Regions from separate parts of the Homo sapiens genome. Here regions 1, 2, 3, 5, 6 and 7 are each linked to region 4. The links are contacts of gene promoters, found by promoter capture Hi-C in blood cells and fetal thymus (Javierre and others, 2016). All regions are on one chromosome and are shown on one strand. The core of a region is centred on a gene start or on the middle of the fragment in contact, and the rest is flanking DNA. Distances in the headings are between cores, read along the strand shown. Region 1 overlaps KAT6A (lysine acetyltransferase 6A). Region 2 overlaps KAT6A-AS1 (KAT6A antisense RNA 1). Region 3 has its middle 19 kb from the start of CHRNB3. Region 4 holds the start of DKK4 (dickkopf Wnt signaling pathway inhibitor 4). Region 5 overlaps KAT6A (lysine acetyltransferase 6A). Region 6 has its middle 130 kb from the start of KAT6A-AS1. Region 7 overlaps KAT6A (lysine acetyltransferase 6A).

Region 1 (3,174 bases), core at 606-3,105, 410 kb after region 4:
ATGATGAGGATTTAGGTAGATGGAGAGAACTAGGGCTTATCAGATGGAGTAAACAACATTAACTTCAGCTTTGAGGAAGCAATGACTACTATACAGGAGTCCCCGCGTATCCACCAGTGATACGCTCCAAGATCCCCAGTAGATGCCTGAAACCGTGGACTGTACTGAACCCTGTATGTACTGTATTGTGTTACATGAATGTAGTCTGTCTCTCTCTAAATCTCTTATTGTACTATTGTACTGTACTAACTCTTCTGACGGTGTGAGATGATAAAATTTGCACCGAGGCTGACGACAGGTAACTAGAACCTCGAAAAGCAAAGCTGGGGATAAGGGGAGACTACTATAAATAATTCCAGCTGGAGGGCAAAGACGTATTATCTGTGTATTCCAAGAACCTGCCACTGAGATAGCAAGCAGAAGCTCACATTTATTTGGCACTCACTGCATGAATGGCATAGTGCTGTAAGTTCTGTGCAAATATCAACTCGTTTAAGCTTTTCAACAAATCTGATAGTGACTTGCCCAACTAAGGTGATTCAGCCGAGATAGGATTTGAACTGTGCTAGCCTTTTCTAGTTCCCAGGCTCTTAACTACTATTTTAATAAGTTGTGCTAAATTATCCAATGAACTAAAAATACATCTATGCGGCCTTTAATATGTGACTTATATTTAATGGGTAAATGCCTTAACACAGTAAACATCGCCCCACCTACCATTCCTACTTTCAGCAGCATCAAGGAGACATCACTTAACAGCAAAAAGATGTCATGGGGGTACCTTAAAATCCCGTCATGCCGAAACTGACATCTTGTTACTAGCTTTCAAAATGCTCCAAAATGCAGCTTAATACTAGTAATTCAGTGTATTACCATTGCCCAACAGATGTTCCACCCTGTCTTATCTCAAACTAAACTCCAGCTATTCCTCACTTTGCATGGTGCAATGTTAACTGAAACCCATGCTTATCAAACTAAAGTAGATTGAAGGAACAGGAGATGATCAAAGATGACTTCCAGGTTCTCTGACGCTGTAATAAAAAAAGTGGTTTGAAGCCAGTTGGGAAAGTTCATCTTGGCTAGATAAGAGGATGTTTTGAATAATAAAAAGACTCATAAAGGTAATGCAGAAAGTCATTTTTGAGGGCATAGATACAGCTTAGAAACTGCTTCACCTGTGTTAGGGTTGGCAAAATATGGCCTGTGGCCCAGTCCCATCCACAGCCTGTTTTGTATGACCTGCAAGCTGAGGATGGTTTTAATATTTTTAAACAGTTGGACAAAAATAAAAAGAATAATATTTATGGACATGTGAAAATTATGTGAAAAATGTTAGCGTTCGTAAATAAAGTTTTATTACAACATACAAAAAACCCATGCATATCAGAACTAAGGTCAAATCTGTCACCTCAGAAGCACGGACACAATTCTGATGTGTACCTGTTTCCATTAACACAGTGCCATCAAAAACAAGGACTGCCTGTCTTACAACACCTTTATGGGCAGATACTGTGTTTTCTATATCATCTCCACAGTGTGACTTGCATGTAGTAGGTCCTCAAATATTTGTTGATCTGATGGGCCAATAATCACCCTATCTCCTGTATTTACAGTAATCCCCCTTTTATCTGTGGTTTTGCTTTCCATGGTTTCAGTTACCCTTGGCTTGCCAAGGTCTGAATTTTATTATCATCGTCTCCTCCTCCTCATCATCATCAGAAGGGTGCATACCATGCAATAGGATATTTTGAGAGAGACCACATTCACGTAACTGTTATTACAGTACATCGTTTTAATTGTTCTGTTTTTAGTTATTGTTGTTAATCTCTTACTGTGCCTAATTTATAAATTAAATATCATGGGTATGGATGAATAGGAAAAAACATAGTATATACAGGTTGACTATCCCTTATCCAAAATGCTTGGGACCAGAAGTGTTTTGGATTTTGATTTTTTTTTTTTTTTTTTTTCAGATTTTGGAATATTTGCATCATATGCTTAGCCGTCGAGCATCCTGAATTCAAAATCTGCAGTGTTCTTACGAGCATTTCGTTTGAGTATCATTAGTGCTCAAAACGTTTCAGATTTTGGAGCATTTCAGGTTTCAGATTTTCAGATTAGGGATACTCAACTTGTATAACATTTAATACTATCTGCAGTTTTCAGGTATTCACTGTAGGTTTTGGAAAGGTGTATTCCCAGTGGGTGGATAAGGGGGACTATTGAATAAACAAGTAATTAAAGCCATGTGGTTAGTAATAGATACCCTCTTATTATATGTAAAATACTATATTCAGCATTATATATTAATTTGTTTCATTTAATACAACTTTATTATTAATTACTTGGCCTCATCTTACAAATGAAGAAATGGAAACATTAGAAGGATTGTTTTACCTAGAGTTATAAATTGTTAAGTTTCAGAGTCAATATTTGAACCCTGGTATTCTGACTCCATGGCCTTAACTGCTTAATTTATGATATAGTATTACTGTGGAGATATGCATAAATTGCAGTGAGAATGAACAGGAAGACATCTAGGGATGTTATTGTTCTATTTTTAGTTATTGTGGTTAACTAAAATTTTAAGTCTTTGTAGAGGAGGTGACATTTGTGTAGGGTGCTGAAGGGATGAGTAAGTTTACTATTGGAGAAGAGTGAGAAGGCATTTCTAGTAGCAAGTTTGGGTGTGAGAAATCGTGTATTCTCGGAGCTGTGTGCAGTTGGTTGGAGTTCAAACAAGAGATGATATTGGAGGGGTACTAGATCATGAAGATTTTGTGTTTCATATTAAGGAGTTTGTACTTAATCTTGCAGGTAAAGTAGCTCTTTAAAGTAGTTAAGTAGTAGCTAAATAGCTCTTGAGGAACTGCTAAAGAATTTCTAAAAAGTGGATGACATCATATTTGTATTTTAGAAACTCAAGTCTGGTGATATTGTCAGCAATGGATTGAGGAACACCTGAGCAAGGGACCAGTCAGATGATTACAGTAGTCAAAATGAAAAGTGACTGGGGCCTAAATGAAGGTAGAAGAGATAGATAGGAGACAGAGATAGATAATCGTTTTGAGAAAGACTTAAGATAGAATGGAAAAGACTGCTGTTGGATTGGGAGTTAGGATTGAAGGAGAGGGCAGAACCAAGTAGGTCTTCTAGTGTTCTATTTGGAGTAGA
Region 2 (3,478 bases), core at 521-3,020, 310 kb after region 4:
TCAGTACCTTGAATATATGAAGAACTATGAAAAATATAAGCAATCCAATAGAAAAATAGACAAAAGACTTGAAGAAGAGCTTCCCAGAAAAGAAAACTCAAATGGCCAATAAACAAAGGTCAATCTCACTAGTAATCAAGGAAATGCAAATTAAAATACTACAAATAATAACAACTCTAATAAGAGTTAACACTTACATTGTGGTCTCTATATAACTTAGATTGGTTTAGTGCCACAACTATATGTAGTAACTTTAAAAATTCTCACAACAATCCTATGTCATAGTATGGTAGGTATTAGTGCTATTCACTAATAAACCTTGCATGAGAAAACATAAGAATCCTTAAAATCATGTAGTATAAATCCAGCAAACTTTGTCCTTTTTCAAAGTTTATGACAATCCTGTACTTTGTATTTCATAAGACTTTAGAATTTGCTTGTCAGTTTCTTTTCCTTTTTTTTTTTTTTGAGATGGAGTTTCACTCTTGTCACCCAGGCTGGAGTACAGTGGCATGATCTCAGTTCACTGCAACATCTGCCTTCTGGGTTCAGGCGATTCTCCTGCCTCAGCCTCCCCAGTAGCTGGGATAACAGGCGTGCACCACCACGCCCAGCTAACTTTTGTATTTTTAGTAGAGACAAGGTTTCACCATGTTGGCCAGGCTGATCTCGAACTCCTGACTGCAGGTATTCTGCCTGCCTTGGTCTCCCAAAGTGCTGGGATTACAGGCGTGAGCCACAACGCCCGGCCTGCTTGTCAGTTTCTATAAACAAAGCCTGCTGGGATTATGATTACAATTGAATCCATAGCTGAATTTGGGAATAATTGATATCTTAACACCATTGAGGTTTCCAACCACAAAACAAGGTGTATCTTTCCATTTTCTTAGTTCTTTTTTTTTTTTTTTGAGACAAAGTTTTGCTTTTGTTGCCCAGGCTGGAGTGCAGTGGGGTGATCTCTGCTCACTGCAACCTCTGCCTCCCAGGTTCAAGTGATTCTCCTGCCTCAGCCTCCCGAGTAGCTGGGATTACAGGTGCCCGCCACCAGGTCCAGCTAATTTTTTTTTTTTTGTATTTTTAGTAGAGACAGGGTTTCACTATGCTGGTTGAACTCCTGACCTCAGGTGATCCACCCGCCTCGGCCTCCCAAAGTGCTGGGATTACAGGCGTGAGCCACTACGCCCGGCCCCATTTTCTTAGTTCTTAGCTCTTGGCAATATTTTGCAGCATTCAATGAACAGATCTCGCACTTATTTTGTCAGATTTATCCCCAAAGCTTTCATACTTTTAAGCAACTGTACAAAGCTAGTTTTTTTTTAATCGCCAATTGTTTGTTGTTAGTATACAGAAATACACTTTATTTTTTTAAAAAAATTCTGGTAAAATACACAAAACATAAAATTTACCATCTTAACAATTTCTAGGTGTTCACTTGATGGGTGTTAAAAATACATTGATATTGTACAACCATCACCACTATTCATCTCCAGAACTCTTTTCATCTTGTAAAACCAAATATCTGTACCTATTCAATAATAACTCCTCATTTTTCTTTTCCTCCAGGACCTGGCAACTACTATACAACTTTCCGTTTCTGTAAATTTGACTACTTTATGTAAGGGAAATCATACAATATTTATATTTTTGTGACTGGCCTATTTCGCTTGACACAATGTCCTCAAGTTTCATCAATGTTGTAGCGTATGTCAGAATTTCCTTCCCTTTTTAAGGCCAAATAATATTCCACTGTATGTATATACCACATTTTGTTTATCCATTCATCTGTTGATGAACATTTGAGTTGCTGCCACTTCTTGGCTACTGTGAATACTGCTACTCTGAACATGGGTATACAAACATCTCTTCAAGATTCTGTTTTCAATTTTTTTTTTTTTGAGACGGAGTCTCACTCTTTGTTGCCCAGGCTGGAGTGTAGTGGTGCAATCTCGGCTCACTGTAACCTCTGCCCTCCAGGTTCAAGAAATTCTCCTGCCTCAGGCTCCCAAGTAGCTGGCATTACAGGCTTGCGCCACCACGCCCAGCTAATTTTTGCATTTTTAGTAGAGACAGGGTTTCGCCATGTTGGCCAGGCTGGTCTCCAACTCCTGACCTCAGGTGATCCGCCCGCTTTGGCCTCCCAAAGTCTGGGATTATAGGTGTGAGCCACCGCGCCTGGCCTGTTTTCAATTCTTTTGTATATATATCCAGAAGTGAGATTGCTAGATCTTATGGTAATTCTATTTTTCACTTTTGAGGAAGCTTTATACTGTTTTCCACAGTGGCTGCACCATTTTATATTCTTAACAACACTACACAAGGACTCCAATTTTTCCACATGCTTACCAACACTTCTTGTTTTTTTTTTTTTTGAGACAGAGTCTTGCTCTGTCACCCAAGCTGGAGTGCAGTGGCATGATCTCGGCTCACTACAAGCTCCGCTGCCCGGGTTCATGCCATTCTCCTGCCTCAGCCTCCCGAGCAGCTGGGACCACAGGCGCCCACCACCACTCCTGGCTAATTTTTTTGTATCTTTAGTAGAGATGGGGTTTCACCGTGTTAGCCAGGATGGTCTCGATCTCCTGACCTCATGATCCACCCGCCTCGGCCTCCCAAAGTGCTGGGATTACAGGCGTGAGCCACCGCGTCCAGCCCACTTCTTGTTTTTTGTTTGTTTGTTTGTTTGTTTTGAGACGGAGTCTCACTCTGTTGCCAGGCTGGAGGCTGGAGTGCAGTGGTGTGACCTCGGCACACTGCAATCTCCACCTCCTGGGTTCAAGCGATTCCCCAGCCTCAGACTCCCAAGTAGCTGGGACTACAGGTGTGCACCACCACGCCCAACTAGTTTTTTCTCTTAGTAGAGACGGGGTTTCATCATGTTGGCCAGGATGGTCTCGATCTCCTGACCTCGTGATCCGCCCGCCTCCGGCTCCCAAAGTGCTGGGATTACAGGCATGAGCCACGATGCCTGGCCGTATATTGATCTTATATCCTGCAACCTTGATAAACCTATTAATTCTAGCAGTTGTTTGTAGGATATTTTAGATATTCGATCATGTCATCTGTGAACAAAGATAGCTTTCTTTCTTTCCAATTTGGATGCCTTTTTATTTTCTTTCCTTACTGTTCTGCCTAGAAACTATAGTACCATGTTGACTAGAGAAGTGGTGACAACAGATATCTTTGCTATGATCATGTCTTAGAGGGAAAGTATTTGTCTTTCATCATTAAGTACCATGTTAATTGCAGGTTTTTTGAGATTTCTTTTATCATTTTGAGGAAGTTCCTTCCTATTTCTAATTTGCTCATATTTTTATCAGGAATAGATGGATTTTGTCAAATGCTTCTCTCTTCATCGAGATAATCATATGAGTTTCCCTTTTTAGTTTGTCAATGTGATGAATTACATTGATTGATTTTCAAATGTTAAAGCAGCCTTGCATTCCTAGGACAAAGCCAGCTGGTCATGTTCATGAAGGAC
Region 3 (3,298 bases), core at 74-2,573, 300 kb before region 4:
CCGGGGCCACACGCTTTTAAACAACCAGATCTCACAGGAACTCACTCACTATTGCAAGGACAGCACCAAGGGGAAGGTGCTAAACCATTCATGAGAAATCCACCCCCATGATCCAATCACCTCCCAGCAGGCCCCACAGCATGAAAACTGGGTGGGGACAAATATCCAAATGATGTCAAGGAGCAATAAGGCATAATAATATGGGAATCCAAAGTGTTGGGTTTTTGTTTTTGTTTTTGCGACTGCTGAGGACTATTGGAATACTTTGTCTTATCCAAATAGCTGTTGTTTGAGGCTGGGCACGGTAGTTCACACCTGTAATCCCAGCACTTTGGGAGGCCGAGGCAGGTGGATCACTTGAGGTCAAGAGTTCAAGACCGGCCTAGTCAACATGGTGAAACCCCATCTCTACTGAAAATACAAAAAATTAGCCTGGCATGGTGTGCATGCCTGTAATCCCAGCTACTCAGGAGGCTGAGGCAGGAAAATCGCTTGAACCCAGGAGGCAGAGTTGGCAGTGAGCCAAGATTGCACCACGGCACTCCAGCCAGAGTGACAGAGGGAGATTCTGTCTCAAAAAACAAAAACAAAGACAAAACCCCACATAGCTGTTGTTTGAGTGCAATTACGTTGTTTGGATGCAATTATGACTTAAAGTTTTTTTCTGACATAAAAGTTTTTTCTTTGTTTTTGTGTTTTAAGTGTTCATTTGCTGCTAGCATAAACTTCAGCCCTCTTTTGTTTGGTCATTACACCCCTAACCTGGCAGGGGCCTATAAGCTGCACAAATTAAGCTTCTAGTTAGTGAGGTGCATGAGCCTCCCCTTAGCACAGTTCTGTAAATCATAGAATTTTATTATTTTATTTCAGACAGGGCTGAGCACGCCACAGCCTTGACATCCCAGGTTCAAGCAGTCCTCCCACCTCAGTCTCCTTAGTAGGTGAGACTACAAGTGTGCACCACAACACCTGCTAATTTTTACATTTTTTTATAGAGATGGGGGTCTCACTCTGTTGGCCAGGCTGGTCTCAAACTCCTGAGCTCAAGTGATCCTCCTGCCTCAGCCTCCCAAAGTGCTGGGATTACCGGCATAAACCACTGCACCTGGATTGAAAATCTCTTAAAACTTTTGTTGAATGAGAATGAGGCAAATCTAAGCCTGCTATACATCTACTTAGGATTTTAGTCACCTTTTTAAGGTGTGTGGGTATCTCTTTATTGCTAAGGGTTACCTAAAAGAAAGTCATTCTGATATTATAACTACTCTGTTCTGAGTCCATTCCAAGAACAATGTGCCCCTTACCCAAGTTTATGGGCTGATAGAGGGAGACAGAAAGATAATTGTGGACTTTTCATTTCCTTTTGCTTCTTTAGTGAGTAGGGAATTACAAAGCAGGCTCCGGTGGCTTCACTTTTCTGCCTGGGGGAACTGGAGTGGAAGTGAGGGTGGGGCTGGGGAAGCAGCCTTTGCTGCCCCTCGGCTCCTTTGTCCCAGCTCATGGGGTCTCCAGCAGCTCACAGACCTTCTGTACCACTGTGAGATAACGCCGGGGGATGGGACTGTAGTCACCTGCATGCTGGATTTGATCCTGGAAGGAAACAGACAAATTCTGAGAGGGTTGCTGATGACCCGGCAGGACTTTTTGCCCTGCTCTTCCCTCTGGCTCTCAGTTAACTCTCTGTATTAAGGAAAGTAGCTTTCAGGTTTTATAAGTGGCAGGGAGGTGTGTTCTTTGAAACAGCTCATCAGACCTATTAGAGATGATTTTCAATTCTCTGGGGAAAGTGTCAAACATCAGAAAGTAAGGAACTCACTTCCTTTCTCTGTTGTTTCAGCTTGTGCTAAGCTTTAGTTTGAGTTCATTTTTGTGAGTTCTTACCTGAAGCAATACTAAGTTGGCAAGTATAAAACTTCACGTGTAGTGGTTGAGTAAAGGGATTTTTCTTAGAAAACATGAAGTAGGAATAACCAAGTATGTTCCCACCTGCTACTTCTCTTTGGCCATGACTAGAACCACAGAAATTTCATTGAAAATCAAGGAAAGAATCTTTCAGCCAATTTGTTACCTTACTCCAGTTTCCGGGGGTGATGGGTCCTGGCCAACAGTTCTGAACTGATTTTTTTTTTTTTTTTTTTTTTTGAGACAGAGTTTTGCCCTTGTTGCCCAGGCTGGAATGCAATGGCACAATCTCGGCTCATTGCAACCTCGGCCTCCCGAGTTCAAGTGATTCTCCTGCCTCAGCCTCCCAAGTGGCTGGGATTAGAGGCGCCTGCCACCATGCCTGGCTAATTTTTGTATTTTTAGTAGAGACAGGGTTTTACTATGTTGGCCAGACTGGTCTCGAACTCCTGACCTCAGGTGATCTGCCCGCCTCAGCCTCCCAAAGTGCTGGGATTACAGGCGTGAACCACAGTGCCTGGCCTGAACTGAAATATTTGAATAAGGAAAGGCAGACACAGTCTAGAAACTAGAGACTTACACATGGATATCAATCCCTAACAAAATCTACACAGTCTTCCTAGACAAATGAAGGTTACCACTGAGATTCAGCATGGATCCATGACAAATAAGTGGTATTGATTAAACACACCATTTCATTGATTGGGATAGTAGGGTAAGTGATCAAGGTATGATAAATGCCTGAACAGCAGACAGCTTTGGAGTTGTGGGTCCTGGCCTCTGTTGCTGGGAGACAGGTTGATAGGTTGATGCAGCAGCACAGGAGATCGCCTGCGGCCAGCAGATACGTGGGATGCAGATACTGAACATGGAGAGGGTGAGTTGTGAACATCACAAAAACAAACGTGGTGGCCCCAAAGAAAGGGGATCCAGGTTGTCCTTTTCCTCACTGGTAAGACAGGGTTTTTCGAGTTATGGATTTTAGTTATTCAGAGGACCCAATCAATGACTGGGAATGTCGAGTTTTCTATCCCTAAAGGGCTAGAGGCAAAGATCTCGACAGTGGAGAGAAGGATCGGCCTAGGGCAGCCACCTCAGGAGCCCTGAGCAGATAAGGAAGCCACCACAGAGACCCCTCTCCACCCCCACACACTTTTTGGTCCTTATGAGTGATGTGAGGAACATTCAAAACCTGGAATTTGAGGAGCATGGAATGAGTTTTCAATTCCACATGCCACCTATTGACACAATTATGTATGTATATATGCATTTATTAGTTGTAAACTAAATACTAACATAGGTGTTAAAAATGATACCAGGCAGGGGTCGGTGGCTCACACCTGTAATCCCAGCACTTTGGGAGGCTGAGGCGGGCAGATCACCTGAGGTCAGGAGT
Region 4 (3,462 bases), core at 627-3,126:
TAGTTTTTATATTTTTAGTAGAGACAGGGTTTCACCATATTGGCCAGGCTGGTCTCGAACTCCTGACCTCAGGTGATCCATCCACCTCAGCCTCCCAAAGTGGTGAGATTACAGGCGTCAGCCACCGCACGCGGCCTACTTTTTTTTTTTTTTTTTTTTTTGTGGAGACAGGATCTCAATATGTTGCCCAGGCTCGTCTTGAACTCCTGAGCTCAGGAGATCTTCCCACCTTGGCCTCCCAAAGTGCTGGGATTACAGGTGTGAGCCACTGTGCCCGGCCATTGGAGTTTCAAATTTTATTCCTAACATGTAATCCGAGGCTCTGTTCCATGCCAAGTGCTCTAAGTGCTCAGTGGCTGTTTGTGCCGTGTTACAGGAGTTCCCGTCAGTTCTTTCGCCTGTGTATATTGCCAGGGGCCTTTGGTAACCTGAAATTCCCTTACAGTGAGGCAGCAGGAAGCAGAGAAACCCGGCAGAGACAGAACCCTGGGGGCTCTTTCCTTTATCCTTGGTCATAATTGTACAACTTGAAAATAAATTCTGTAACACCCCTAGTCACCAGGGTTATCATGCTATCAAAGGGTGTTGTTTGATGTCAGTTTAAGGGATTAAAACAAGTAACTTCCATACGAGAGGTAGACAAGCAATACCAACCCAAGGACAAGGGCCAAGTAGTAGGAAGGCTCGAATCACCTGCATCACCCTCGGAATGGCACTGCATTACTCAAAATTGAGAATGTTCCCATGCACAGAATGCTGAGATTCATGTCAATGAATTGATGTTAGGTTGTTCTGCAGGAAAATGTAGTAAATAATAAGATTATCATTTATGGCATAGAAAAAATGCATTTTAGATGACTCTATGCTAAGAGCAATGAAACAATGAAGAGAAAAAATGATTTTTTGATCCAGATCTAGATTGTTCTACCCTTAAAGTATTTAAGACAGTGATAAGCACATGTCTAAATTACCTGACTAATAGTCCAAATGGAAAAAAATCAGACAGGAAAGGGATGAAGCAGAAGTTTTAAAAAATTCGTATTAGGAAAATTGGAAATACATGAAATTTCATCTGAAATCAGCCAGAGACTTGGATCCTTGTTCTGCTTAAGTGAGTTTTACATAATGCAACACAAATTAAATATGTTGCTGATAAAATGGACCCAAAGCTTCGTACTGAATTGTGTAAAATGCGCTATCATTGTTCCCACCATTGAAAAATGGGATTTTCATAAATTACATTATTTTCCTAATAACCCTAACTTCAAACAGTTCAATTTTCATTTAAAGGAAAGTAATTTCCCAAATGGCATTTAGTCAGAACAGGTGCTGTTACGTTCACAACTTTTAAGCGGTTGGGATTTTGACATCTGGATGCCAGAGCTAATCAGGGGGCGTTTTCTCTTTTTCTATCTGTCCTCACTATCTGAAGCCCAGTTTACAGCTTCTCAGTGTATTTTGTACCTCATTAGTTTTTGGCATCCTCTATAGCATATTGGCCAGTATGATTCATCCTTTCTTTGAGCACAATTAGCTGTGAAAACAGATCTTAGGGCAGACTCCCTCCCTACCCCCAAAGGATTACTGAAGGTAGGAAATGCAGGTGATTATCAGAGTTTGCCTTTGATACAGACATCCTGCTCTGCCGTGGCCCTTTGAACTAACTTTGATATGCAATAATTAAGAGGGATTGAACCCCTGGAGGAGAAGCCGCATGGCCCTGCCTCTTCTCTCCTTCTATTGAGTCCTTGTTTTGAACTATTGATCAAACAGATTTGAAGGGATTTGTTGAAGCCTGTGTGGGGCAGGAGGAAGGAACGGAGCGGGGAGGAGGCACATCTGGTTATAAATAGTTTCAGGAGGAACCTGCTGGTCAGACTTTGCTCAGCCGATTTCACGCACCTTACTCAGACTAAGGTTTACTTCTTTCAGAAAAAGCAGTGACAAACAGACGACGTGCTGAGCTGCCAGCTTAGTGGAAGCTCTGCTCTGGGTGGAGAGCAGCCTCGCTTTGGTGACGCACAGTGCTGGGACCCTCCAGGAGCCCCGGGATTGAAGGATGGTGGCGGCCGTCCTGCTGGGGCTGAGCTGGCTCTGCTCTCCCCTGGGAGCTCTGGTCCTGGACTTCAACAACATCAGGAGCTCTGCTGACCTGCATGGGGCCCGGAAGGTAAGGCTGCTAGGGAGGGGGGCGAGGTACGGGACTGCTGACAGCTGGGGTGTTTTGTTTAGGCTTTAGTAAGTCATTCTGATTCATGTATGAAATGTCTTACCTAGCAGGTAAATTGAATTGGTTTCGGATTTGGGAGGGCATCCTGGTAGGATCAGTGGCCTTAGTGTGAATGTATGAAATAAACACAGTGGCTTTTCACATCATTCGGCCATACGTTTGTCTATAAATCACGAAATAAACGAACACTTTGGAAGCTCTACTATGTGCCAGCTCTTTTACATGTAATACGTCATGTACTCTTCCTCACAATTTGAGATAGGTGAAACATTCCCTAATTCCAGATGAGGAAATAAGACTCAGAGATGTTGAAGAGCTTACCCAAGCTCACACAGCCAGCAAGCAAACATGGGAATGAGAATTTAAACAGAGGGCCATGATGCATTGCCTTGTCACCATCTAACTTCACAGAGAGAGTTGTTTTAGGAATCGCTTTATGTATGTGTATATGTTATTATATATCGTATAGATTATTACATATATCATATATGCTACACCTACGTTGTATGTCTATGTAGAAGCATCAACTGTGTATGAGAACAATTGATCTTCGGTATCTCTTTCTCTATGTCAATGAGGCATCATTGAAAATCAAAGGACAGTTCACTTAGGGAAGGGTCTCTAAGCTAAATGTGATTCACTAGAGTAAAAAATCAAATAGGAATGCCACAAACATCAATAGTATGTTTAATGAAACTGTAGCCAGCTTCTAGAGTTAAGATATATTGAAAATCTCATACTCACCTGTTAAGACACACATAGGAAAACATTTTTTCCCATTTTCACAAAGAGCACAGGAAAACTAAATTCTGAGTTAAGTCAATTTTTCAAACTCAAATAGCCTTTGCAGCGCCTAGGTCTCCCCGGGTGACATGAGCTTCCCTTTGTGGGAGAAAACCATTTCCACTGGAGAGTAAGATGCTGCCCAGGGTTTGTCACAGCGCCACTGTCCTTTGGCTCCCTCCGCCTCCTGCCTTCAATAATAAGTCATCTTCCATCGTGTTGGGGGTTTCCTAGCCTTGTGATAACAGATTCCCTCCACAGGGCTCACAGTGCCTGTCTGACACGGACTGCAATACCAGAAAGTTCTGCCTCCAGCCCCGCGATGAGAAGCCGTTCTGTGCTACATGTCGTGGGTTGCGGAGGAGGTGCCAGCGAGATGCCATGTGCTGCCCTGGGACACTCTGTGTGAACGGTGAGCGACATAACGCCAACAGTGGTTTTTAAACCGA
Region 5 (3,446 bases), core at 220-2,719, 360 kb after region 4:
GAATAGTACATATGCCAGGAGTTGAAATTTATCTATACATTGAAATTTATACGACTGTATAGGAGGTTGTGGTTTGGCAGCAAAAGCTTTCTAGATCACTAATTTGTAAGCGCCTTGAAGGTAAGTGTTCAGTGTCTCTTACATCTTTGTATTGCCCACAGGCAAATGCTGTTTTATGAGTGGCAGTAATTTGTATTCTGAACTTAAGGCAAGAAAGACTTTGTATAGGATCTGCTTTTAAGTGCTGTCGTGGTATCTGGAAAGTTGTTTGCATAGTTACCTCCTTATCTGTCTGTCCTCTTGGCTTCCTAGTTCTGCTTTCCCCCCAGCTCATCCATGTTGAAGGGATCTGGCTATAGATTGCAACTCTGCTTACTGTAGCATAGGGCTGCCAGCTTGGTAGTCCGGATTCTTTTTAGCACAGAAGGGGCATGAGACCACATTGGACATATTACTTGTGAGCTTTGAGAAGTTTTTGTGGATAACATTGGCAGACAACCTCTGACTTTGACATTATAGCCTACTCTGTTATATTGTTCTCCTCTCTTCTGCCTTACTATCTCCCTTCATGCACTGGTTATCCCATTTGAAATAGTGTTTCTGGAGGCTTAAAGATGAGGAGTAGTTGAACAGTTATGGACAGTGATTTCTCAGCTCCTTAGAGAACTGAACCCATAATCTATCCTTTCCTAGCGTAATCCTGAACCTGTAACTACATTTAATAACTGCATGTACCGAAGTATTTCAAGTAATCCTGAACCTGTAACTACATGTAATAACTGCATGTACCGAAGTATTTCATTGGATCACATACTGCTCCAGCTTCTACTTCAGTTTCTACCTCCCTTGTATATGAGGTCACTTATTCTAGTTGAGTAATATCTCTGAATTTCTTCCTTTATTTATTAAAAAAGTGCTAATATGCTGTCCTCCGAGCCCCATTTAATCTTTTTCTGTTTTCTTATTTTCCTTGCTTCTCTTTAGCCCCCCGATCTGTCCTTGTCTTATTGCTGTAACCTGCTGCCCCTTATTGATCATACAGTGGATTGAAGGTATATTTGTTGACTTAATTATCTATGTGTTTTAAGAAACTGGTTGCCTGAGGCATTTCTGCGTGTGTGTTTTAAAAGAGAGCATAGCCTCTTGATCTCAAGCCAAAAATGTGGTTCATTTAACTGGTATTTTATCTTCAATTGATTTTTCTGTGGAGTTTGGCCTTGGATATATATAGTATGGGTATAGATGATTGTGAATGGCTTATAATAGCTGATTACAGAGTATGGCCCAGAAATTCTTTTGCTTTGTACTGTGTATGGAACAGTTTGGTATGAAAATTAACTGTAGCAAAAGCATAGTTAACTTTAATAGCATATCTGGCATCTCTTTTCTCACACATCACGTCTAGTACAGTAGCAAATCCTTTTGGCTCTGCCCCTTAGAACAGGGGTTAGCAAATTATGGCCCCCACCTCTTTATAGTTCATGAGCTAAAAATGTTTTTTTTTTAACAATTCTAAATGGTTGAAAAATATTAAAATAATATTTCAAACACATGCAAATCATATGTAATTCAGATTTCAGTGTCCATAAGTAAAGTTGTATTGGAGCACAGCCACACTTGTTTTCGTTTCTGTGTTGTCCAAGGCTTCTTTCACGGTACCGCGGCAGACTTGAGTGGTTTTAACAGAGACCCTGTGACCTCAGAACTGAATATATTTACTGTCTGGTCTTTACAAACAGTTTGCCAAACCCTGCTCTGTTGTATATCCAGAATCTAGCACTTTTTACTTCCCTCTTGACTAAGTCATTGTTCTTGCCTCCTAATTGAACTCCTTGCTTCTGTTCTTGTCCCTTTAAATCTGCAGTCAGTGGAGTGATCTTTTTAGAAAGTAAACCACCCTCTGTTTAGATAAAATAGGTTAATAAATAAGTAAATATCAAGGACAGTTTTGAATGAAAATTATAGAAGGACCATTAATCTTGGTTAGGATAGGAGCAAGGAACCCCATATATTGTGTTTAAATGCTGATGAATACAGAAGTGACCATACATATGTGTGCATGAGCATTTGTAATTGAAAAAAAGCAGAGCCAAGGCCGGGCGTGGTGGCTTACGCCTGTAATCCCAGCACTTTGGGAGGCCAAGGCGGGTGGATCATGAGGTCAAGAGATGGAGACCATCCTGGCCAACATGGTGAAACCCCAACTCTACTAAAAAATACAAAAATTAGCTGGGTTTGGTGGCATGCGCGGCTGAGACAGGAGAATCGCTTGAACCCGGGAGGCGGAGGTTGCAGTGAGCCAAGATCGCGCCACTGCACTCCAGCCTGGCAACAGAGCGAGACTCCATCTAAAAAAAAAAAAAAAGAAAGAAAGAAAAATGACAGAGCCACCTCCCTCTGTATTGCTATATTTATTTATCTATAAATTTACATGCAATAATGCATTCTTTTCTGTGTCTACTTTTATGAGTTTTGATAAATGGATAGAGTTATATAACCAATCACCACAATCAAGATATAGGAAAGATCCATTATCCACTAAAAAAAAAAAAAAACTTGACTTTTGTAGTCATCACCCTCCCCCAACCCTGGCAAACCACTGAGCTATTATTCTCCCTATAATATTACATTTTCCAGACTGTCATATAAATGGAATCAAGTATAGTTTTTTAAGTTTGGCTTATTTCATTTGGCATCATGCATTTGGGATTCATCCATGTAGTTGTCAATAGTTTGTTCCTTTTTGTTGCTGAGTAGTACTCCATGGTGTGGTAGGTACACCATAGTTTGTTTATCTCTTCCCCTATTGAGGGACATTTGGTTTCAGTTTTTGGCAATTATGAATAAGCTTTCTATAAACATTCATATATAGGTTTTTGTGTGAATATAGTACAGTAGTTTCCTGTGGCTGCTGTAAAAAATTGCGAAACTGGATAGCTTTAAAACAGCAGAAATTTATTCCCTCACTATCCTGAGGGTCGGAAGTCTGAAATTAGTATTTCTGGACTGAACTCAAAGTGTTGGCAGGGACACATTGCCCCTGCAGGCATTCTGAGCTTCTGGTGGCTCTTGGCATTTCTTGGCTTGTGGTCAGCAGCAGCATCACTCCCATCTCTGCCTCTTCACATCATGTCTTCTCCTTTGTGTGTGTGTCACCTGTTCCTCTGCTTCTCTAGGGACACTTGTCACAACATGTATGGCCTGCTTAGATAATCCAGGATAACCCCCCCATCTCAAAATTCTTAATTTAATCACACTTGTGAAGACCCTTTTCCCAAATAAAATTATCCTTTACAGGTTCGAAGGATTAGGATGAGCTGTCTGTGGGGGATTTCAGTCTACTACTCTAGGTTTTCATTTGACTTGGGCAGATACCTAGGAGGTGTGTTGCTGGGTTGTATGGTAATGGTATGTTTAACTTTTATAAGAAACTGCTAAGCTGTTTT
Region 6 (3,517 bases), core at 879-3,378, 450 kb after region 4:
TTATATAAAACCTTTAAATTGGTATTCTAAGTGTAAAGTCTGTTGTGAACAAAGTAAAAACATTCATACACAATTTCCTTGCTAGGACTGAGGCTCTGTCCCATGTACAAGCAAGTTTCACTGGTTTAATTGATTTGTTACATTTAGTAAAATTGCTTGATTTAATTTTTTTCTTTTTTTCTTTTTTTTTTTCTTGAGCTAGTCTGACTCTGTCACCTAGGCTGGAGTGCAGTGGCGCTATCACAGCTCACTGCAGCCTTGACCTCGTGGGCTCAAGTGATCCTCCCACCTCAGCCTTTCCAAATGCTATAGTTTTCTTTGTAAATGAAGGTTAATAAAGCAGTTGTAGTCAATTACATCAAAATGATTGAATTTGATCATAGTTTTCCAAAGAAAATGAAAACATTGACAAAGAGACAGTGATTAAGGCTTTACTAATAAAGGCAAGGACTTCTTGCAAATGGGATAATTACATGATTTCAAAGAAGTTTGTCTTACCTCCTGTTTAGAGAAAACAGCTAAAATTAACTAGAACTAACCTGACATTCTCAAAGGATGATTGAAAGCTGTAAATCTGAAAGCTGAATAATATGTATTATTGCAAGAACAACTTTAAAAGGTCAGGGAAGTAGTTCAATTAAAAGAACAGAGGAATACAAAGCAAAGCAGACTCAAGCCAGCTACTGCCACTCACCTTTGCTGAGTCTCAGCACAGGGATCTCAGGTTGCAGTGCTGCTGCTATCAGGCAACTCCCCGCTCCGTGGGGTCTGCCTTGCTGCCAGCGGACTGCCATCTAAACTGCTTTCCTCTGCAGCCTCAGGTGTCACACGAAGACATGAAAATGCCCATGCAATAAGATGGACTTGGTTCCCTTACATCTTTTTTAAACCCCTTGTTATTGTGAAAATAAAGCACATACAGAAAAGTCAATAAAACACATATAGCTGAATGCATTTGTCTAAAGTGAATACCTCTCTAAAAATAAATCAGGCTGCAAAATAGAACTGCAGCTCAGTAGTCCCTCCACTGTGGCTTGGAGGGCCCTTCCTAAGCACAGTCTACCCTCCCAAGCGGAAATGATCACCATCCAGGCTTAGGCGGTAAATCTTTTTCTTGTATCTTACTACCTAGGTGTGCATTCTTAAGCATCATAGCTTCACTCTATCTTGTTTTGAAGCTTACAGAAATGGAATCATACAGTTTGCATCTGGCTTCCCTCAACATGTTCGTGAGATTTGTTTATGAAGTTGGACGTTGCTGTAGTTCATTTATTTTCACTGCTGTATAATATTATATGACTACAAAAAATGTATACATTCTAAAGTTGACAAATATGTAGGTTTCAGTTTGGTTTATTACCAATGATACTGCTGTGTTTAATCCCACATACATCTGGTGCACATTTGCAGACATTGCTCATAGGTATGCTCCTAAAAGGTGAATTGCTGGATGATCAGGCAGGTGTAACTCCAGCTGTACCACCTAACGCCAGACTCAAAAGTAACCATTCCGTTTCTTGTTGTTGGCCCCCATTAGCCGTGTATGAAAGTTCTTGTTATTCCACATTCTTGTCAATACTTGATATTTTCAAATATTTCAATTTCTGCCAGTCTGGTGTGTGTGTAGTGGAATCTCTGTGATTTTCTTTTGCATTTCTCTGATTACTAATGAAGTTGAGTACCTTTTCATATGCTTAGTGGCTATTTGAGATTCCTCATTTGTGAAGAGTGTGTTTAAGTCTTGTGCCTGGATCGTTATTGAATTGCCTTTTTCTTATTGATTTATAGGAGTACTTTATATACTTTGAATAAGAGTCTTTGGTCAGTTACTTATGTCACACGTATCTTCTGCCATTCTGGGACTTGCCCTTTCACTTTAAGGGTATCTTTTGATGAACATAAGTTTTTAGTGTGTTCCAAGTTCAGTAGTATCTTCCTTTATGGGTAGTGCTTTTTTCTGTGTGGGTTGGGAAATCTTTCCCTACTCTGAGATTATAATGGTTTTATCTGATATTCTCTAGTTTCTAACAGCTTATTTTGCTTACATTGTTAAATCTTTAAAGTATCTGAAATTGATTTTTGTTCATGGCATGAGGTAGGGACCAGTTTCATCTTTTCCCCATGTGGAGACACGGTTCTGACAGCACTATTTCTTTCTCCACTGCTCTATGTCAAGTGTCCATATACGCATCAGCCTATTTCTGGACGATTTATTCTGCTTCATTGATCTCTATGTCTATTCTGGTTTGATTACTGTAGCTACAAAATAAATCTTCATATTAAGTAAAGCAAGTCCTCCTCCTAAGTTGTTTTTCTTCTCAGAAGTGATTGACCCTTCTAGGCTTTGTGCATGTCCATATATTTTTAGAATTAACGTATTAGATTCCTAAATGATCATAATGACATTTTATTTTGATTGCATTTATTCTAAAAATCAATTTAATGAAAATTGACAACAGTATTGATTCTTCCATTCACCGAACATTATATCATTTTTTCTTTTTTTGGTCTTACGGCACTGGCTCAGTACAGTGTTGAAGTCATTAGAGCAGGCATACCCTTAATCACATGAAGGAATATCCATTCAATTCCTAGTTTCCTAAGAGTTTTTATCATAAAAGGATGTTGAATTTTATCAAACACTTTTTCTGCATTATTGGAAAGGCATGATTTTTTTCTCTCATACACACATGCATTGCATACACTTAAACACAAGACAATTTCATATCAATTAGGAAGGGATAAATGGAGTTAAAGTGCTTCAACGTCTTTCAATGTCTTGATTAATATTACTGAGAAATTAAAGATACTTTTTTTGAAAGATGCATATTTTAATTTCCAGGGTAATCACTAAAAGAACAGAAACAGTGTGTAATTCCAAAATAATACAAGGAGAAAATGGAATGATAAAATGTGAAAAATAATCTGAAAGAAGGGAACAAAGGAGAGAAAAGACACAAGTAAATAGAAAAGACATTATAAATAGACTTAAACCCAAATATATCAGTAATTAAGTGATTTGTAAATGGACTAAATATTCCATTTAAATGACACAGATTATTAGAAAAATAAAGCTTAAAAACCTTATATGCTGTTGATAAGAGAAACATCAAAAACATAAGAAAAACATAAGTTAAAAAAATAGAAAAACTATGTTAGGAAATCACTAACAAAAGAAAGCATTAGTATAGGTATATTAATATGAGACAAAATAGAATTTAAGGCAAAAAGGATTACCAAAATAAAGAGGGTTAAAAATGGTAAAAGTTTTAATTCATCAGGAAGGTATAAAAATTCTAAATTCATATGGCCTTATTAATGTGATCCTAAAATATATAAAGCAAAAATGGGCAAAACTATAATGAGAGAAAAATCATAGAGGGAGGTTTTCTTAAAAAAAATTAATGTACTTGATTTACTAGACCAGTTTTAGGTTTACAGCAAAATTGAGTAGAAAGTACAAAATGTTCCTTGTCCCCACACATGTACAGCCTCCCCGATTATTGACATCCTCCTC
Region 7 (3,403 bases), core at 118-2,617, 340 kb after region 4:
TTGAGGTATCTTTTATGGTTGAATTGTATTATGCTTACGAAACATAGATTATTAGAAAAAAAGACTTGTATCTTCTGCATTGTGTAGAATGTTCAGCCAGTAGCAATCTTGGATCACAGTGATTCTAATCTGATTTCACAAATAATAGGGAAATTTGAGAGCCAAAGAGGTTGAAGTGTCTTGTCCAGTGCCACACAGCCAGTTAATACCATCTGGAAGAATTGGTCAGGCCCTTCTCAATTTTGTGCTTTTTTCATTATGCTGTAGTACTGCTTTATAGTATTAGAGAGCAGTGAGCCTAAAATAATTTAGTTAGAATTCTCTTCCTTAATGGAAACCATAGAATAAACCTTGTCTAGAGAATATTGGTGGTATCGTAAACCACAAATATATAAATCTGCTATTTCAGTGTGTGAAAATAGCTATACACTCTTGTTAGAGTTTTGAAACAACTTTTTGGGAAAAGACTGCTTTCTTATGGCCCAAGTTAGAGGAATCAAGGTTTTCTTATGTTGTTGGCTAAATATTAGAAGGGGAACATGTTGAGCTACCTTAATGCTGGAAGAAAAAGTACTCCTTGAGTTTTGGGAAAAAAAGTCCATTTAAAGGTAAGTCTAATTTTCAGTAGGTCTGCAACACAAATGACCTCTGAGTGACTTGGATCATTGGTTAGAATTTAAAATTCTTGAGACTGAGCTAGAGATAGCAAGGTACAAACCTTTCTATTAATTAATGAAGTAATTTTTACCAAAGACATTAAATATGGGTGGACCAAAAGTGTATAGTCTAGCACTTCTATAAACATAGTGTCTGGGAGGAGCTTGAGAGATTTGTAATGTTACTTGTAAACAGACCGTGTGGGGAAGACCGCAGACAGCACATCATTTTTTGTCTTTATTGGTCTTTATGACTAACACTTCATCTCTGCATCACTTCTGCTTTGCTGTAAAACTTAGCAAGTACATTAGGATAGTGGCAAATAAAGATTAAGATTGAGGACAGATGTTTGTAAAATAACTGGGCGATTTTAAGATTATAGGTGTAACTTGTTAAGAAGAAGATAACTGGTGTGGAAATAAAATCTGGCAGCCAAAAAAAAAAAAAAAGCTTTCAATGTGTTAAAGAAGATAGTTGCTTCTTTTGCCGTTTACCTTTTATGTAGAATAGGTGATTCCGCAGATCTAGAGGTGTTGTCAGACTTGTACTATGGGCTGCGTTTTCCTCCAGGGAATTGTGAACTGTAGTTGACCTGAAGAGCTGCTAAGTGTTGGTTTTTAATTCTTTGAGCTTAGTAAAGTCTAGGTTCCTTTTTTCTTAGTCATTGGGTACAGTGAAGCATTTAACTCCTGAGTTTTCTAGAACCTTTAACAGAACTCTCAGAAACATTATTACTATTTTTGTGTGTGGAGTGTGATTCTGTACTTTAATAGTTTCCCAATTTTTCTATTCAGGGCATCTTTAAATATCTAACTTACTATTTAAACCCTCTTTCACCATTTTCCTGCCTTACTTTTTTCCATGCCACTCAGTTTTTCTTTAATTCTGTAACATAAATCCAAAGCCTTATTCTTTGGAAAGCAGTGGTACTTGGCACTAAATTCACTTTAGCATTACCTGAGGAAGCTTAAAAAATAAATACCAAACTAATTAAATTTGACTAGTAGTGAGGCCCAGGTTTCAGTTTTTTTTATTTTTTATTTTTTTAAGAATGTTTATCTGATGTGCAGCTGGGGTTGAGAACCATTGCTCTAATGCTTAGAACCAACATCTCTGTAGTGGGGACTGGCTAAGAGAGTCAGAAGACAGAAGAAGCAGGTACTTTTTAACCTCATAATTGACATTCAAACAAATGATGAAATAGCATGCTTCACACACACCCTCATGAACACACTTTGGACCCAGGACAGTGTACTTCTGGAAATGTACATTCTGTTTTATTGTCCTCCCTGGCTATAACTACTCTAATCTTCCACCTTTCTTTCTCCTTACCCTCACTGCTTTATCTCAAGAAGATCTTGTGTGGTATATAGTTGCGAGAAAGTTACCTGCATGATTCCGACAGGTGCCCTGCCATCACTCTAATGCTGTTCTCATTGCTTGGCCTTATGGCACATTCTCACTCACTCACTACTCCTGCATCATGTTGGCAAACTCCAGCCATTTACCACCTTCTCCTTTTTTTTTTGAGTTGGAGTCTTGCTCTGTCACCCAGGCTGGAGTGCAGTGGTGCGATCTCTGCTCACTGCAACCTCCATCTCCTGGGTTCAAGCGATTCTTCTGCCTCAGCCTCCCAAGCAGCTGGGATTACAGGTGCCTGCTACCACCCCTGGCTAATTTTTGTATTTTTTTAGTGGAGACGGGGTTTCATCATGTTGGCTAGGCTGGTCTTGAACTCCTGACCTCAGGTGATCTGCCCACCTTGGCCTCCCAAAGTGCTGGGATTACAGGCATGAGCCATCGTGCCCAACCTCTCTGCTTTAACTTTGGGGAAAATCTCATGACCATGTGGTGGGATGCCACTTACAAATTTGTGGCCTCCAATCTGAGCTCTGCCCTCTGCTTGAAGATGTATGTCTGTGTATAGTCTGTTCTGTCTGCAGAAATTCAGTATTTCTTCCCACCTTTTTTTCTCATTTTCAGTAGATACTCCCATATGCTACATCATAGAGATAATGGAATCTGTCCAATTGAGCTCATTGAGTTTATACCCCTCTCATGCCATCCTAAATACATCTGTGCTTATTTCTGCCCGCTTTGCTACCTTGTCATAGGACAGTGAAAGAAGTGTGAAAGGCTCATCTCTCCATTCTTTTTCAGGACCCCATTCTCTGCTACCTCAGGGGCCGTGTGCCATCAAAAATAGTCCCATTTTTTGACTCTATCATCTTTCTCGCTCACTTTTTAGTCCTTAGCAGGCAGAAGACTCTCCCGTTAGAGTAAAAACAACCAAAAAACCACTGCAGATCCTTCTTTCTATGTATACCCTGTCTGTTTCCATTCATTTTTAAACTTCTTGAAAAAAGTCTATATTCATTCCACGTCTGCTGCAATCTGGCTTTTGGCCCTAGAGCAGCACTATTTGAAACTGCTCTTGTGGACAGTTTTCAGTCTTATTTTACCTGAGTTCTCAGCTGCATTTAGCATTTGTTGACCATTCTTCCCTTTCCTCTGGGATAATTCTTAGATGTCTCCCCCTTCCTCCCATCTTTCTGGTAATTCCTTTTCAGTTTATTGGCGTTTTATCTTTTGCCTGTATCTAGATGTTGGATTCCCTAAGGTTCTGTTCTTCACTCATTTCTTACTGTTTTCTAGAGAGTTATCTAGAGATAACTTTCCTGAGTTATTTCTAGACCTCTGTGTTCTTTACTGATGACTCTAATTTCATATCTTAATTTGAGAGCTC

The links. The method cuts DNA at HindIII sites, captures the fragments that hold promoters and counts their contacts. A CHiCAGO score of 5 or more calls a contact.
Region 1: a contact is called between a fragment that was not itself captured here and the fragment with the promoter of DKK4 in region 4, in 9 of 17 cell types (activated CD4 T cells, total CD4 T cells, naive B cells and 6 more). The highest score is 11.7, in activated CD4 T cells.
Region 2: a fragment that was not itself captured here is called in contact with the fragment with the promoter of DKK4 in region 4 in 1 of 17 cell types (erythroblasts); the score reaches 5.9 in erythroblasts.
Region 3: a contact is called between a fragment that was not itself captured here and the fragment with the promoter of DKK4 in region 4, in 1 of 17 cell types (M0 macrophages). The highest score is 5.2, in M0 macrophages.
Region 5: a fragment that was not itself captured here is called in contact with the fragment with the promoter of DKK4 in region 4 in 5 of 17 cell types (activated CD4 T cells, non-activated CD4 T cells, total CD4 T cells and 2 more); the score reaches 8.3 in activated CD4 T cells.
Region 6: a fragment that was not itself captured here is called in contact with the fragment with the promoter of DKK4 in region 4 in 7 of 17 cell types (non-activated CD4 T cells, naive B cells, naive CD8 T cells and 4 more); the score reaches 7.4 in non-activated CD4 T cells.
Region 7: a fragment that was not itself captured here is called in contact with the fragment with the promoter of DKK4 in region 4 in 4 of 17 cell types (activated CD4 T cells, naive CD8 T cells, total B cells and 1 more); the score reaches 9.2 in activated CD4 T cells.

What each region holds. Positions count from the first base shown.
Region 1 is chr8:41,963,424-41,966,597 of GRCh38, reverse strand. The region is part of intron 8 of KAT6A (lysine acetyltransferase 6A); the gene reads left to right. Among named protein-coding and RNA genes, the nearest start is that of KAT6A-AS1, 87 kb to the left of the region's middle. The HindIII fragment of the contact is 2,712 bases long and covers 500-3,174 here.
Region 2 is chr8:42,061,395-42,064,872 of GRCh38, reverse strand. All of the region lies in intron 1 of KAT6A-AS1 (KAT6A antisense RNA 1), which reads right to left. Among named protein-coding and RNA genes, the nearest start is that of KAT6A, 11 kb to the right of the region's middle. The HindIII fragment of the contact is 983 bases long and covers 1,279-2,261 here.
Region 3 is chr8:42,676,833-42,680,130 of GRCh38, reverse strand. No RefSeq gene overlaps it. Among named protein-coding and RNA genes, the nearest start is that of CHRNB3, 19 kb to the left of the region's middle. The HindIII fragment of the contact is 1,054 bases long and covers 797-1,850 here.
Region 4 is chr8:42,375,643-42,379,104 of GRCh38, reverse strand. It overlaps DKK4 (dickkopf Wnt signaling pathway inhibitor 4), which reads left to right and starts at 1,876. Exons shown (of 4, transcript NM_014420.3): 1 at 1,876-2,170; 2 at 3,275-3,425. The coding sequence starts at 2,060. The HindIII fragment of the contact is 5,398 bases long and covers 1,172-3,462 here.
Region 5 is chr8:42,012,180-42,015,625 of GRCh38, reverse strand. All of the region lies in intron 2 of KAT6A (lysine acetyltransferase 6A), which reads left to right. Among named protein-coding and RNA genes, the nearest start is that of KAT6A-AS1, 38 kb to the left of the region's middle. The HindIII fragment of the contact is 2,762 bases long and covers 89-2,850 here.
Region 6 is chr8:41,923,187-41,926,703 of GRCh38, reverse strand. No RefSeq gene overlaps it. Among named protein-coding and RNA genes, the nearest start is that of KAT6A-AS1, 130 kb to the left of the region's middle. The HindIII fragment of the contact is 1,896 bases long and covers 1,181-3,076 here.
Region 7 is chr8:42,035,395-42,038,797 of GRCh38, reverse strand. The region is part of intron 2 of KAT6A (lysine acetyltransferase 6A); the gene reads left to right. Among named protein-coding and RNA genes, the nearest start is that of KAT6A-AS1, 15 kb to the left of the region's middle. The HindIII fragment of the contact is 516 bases long and covers 1,110-1,625 here.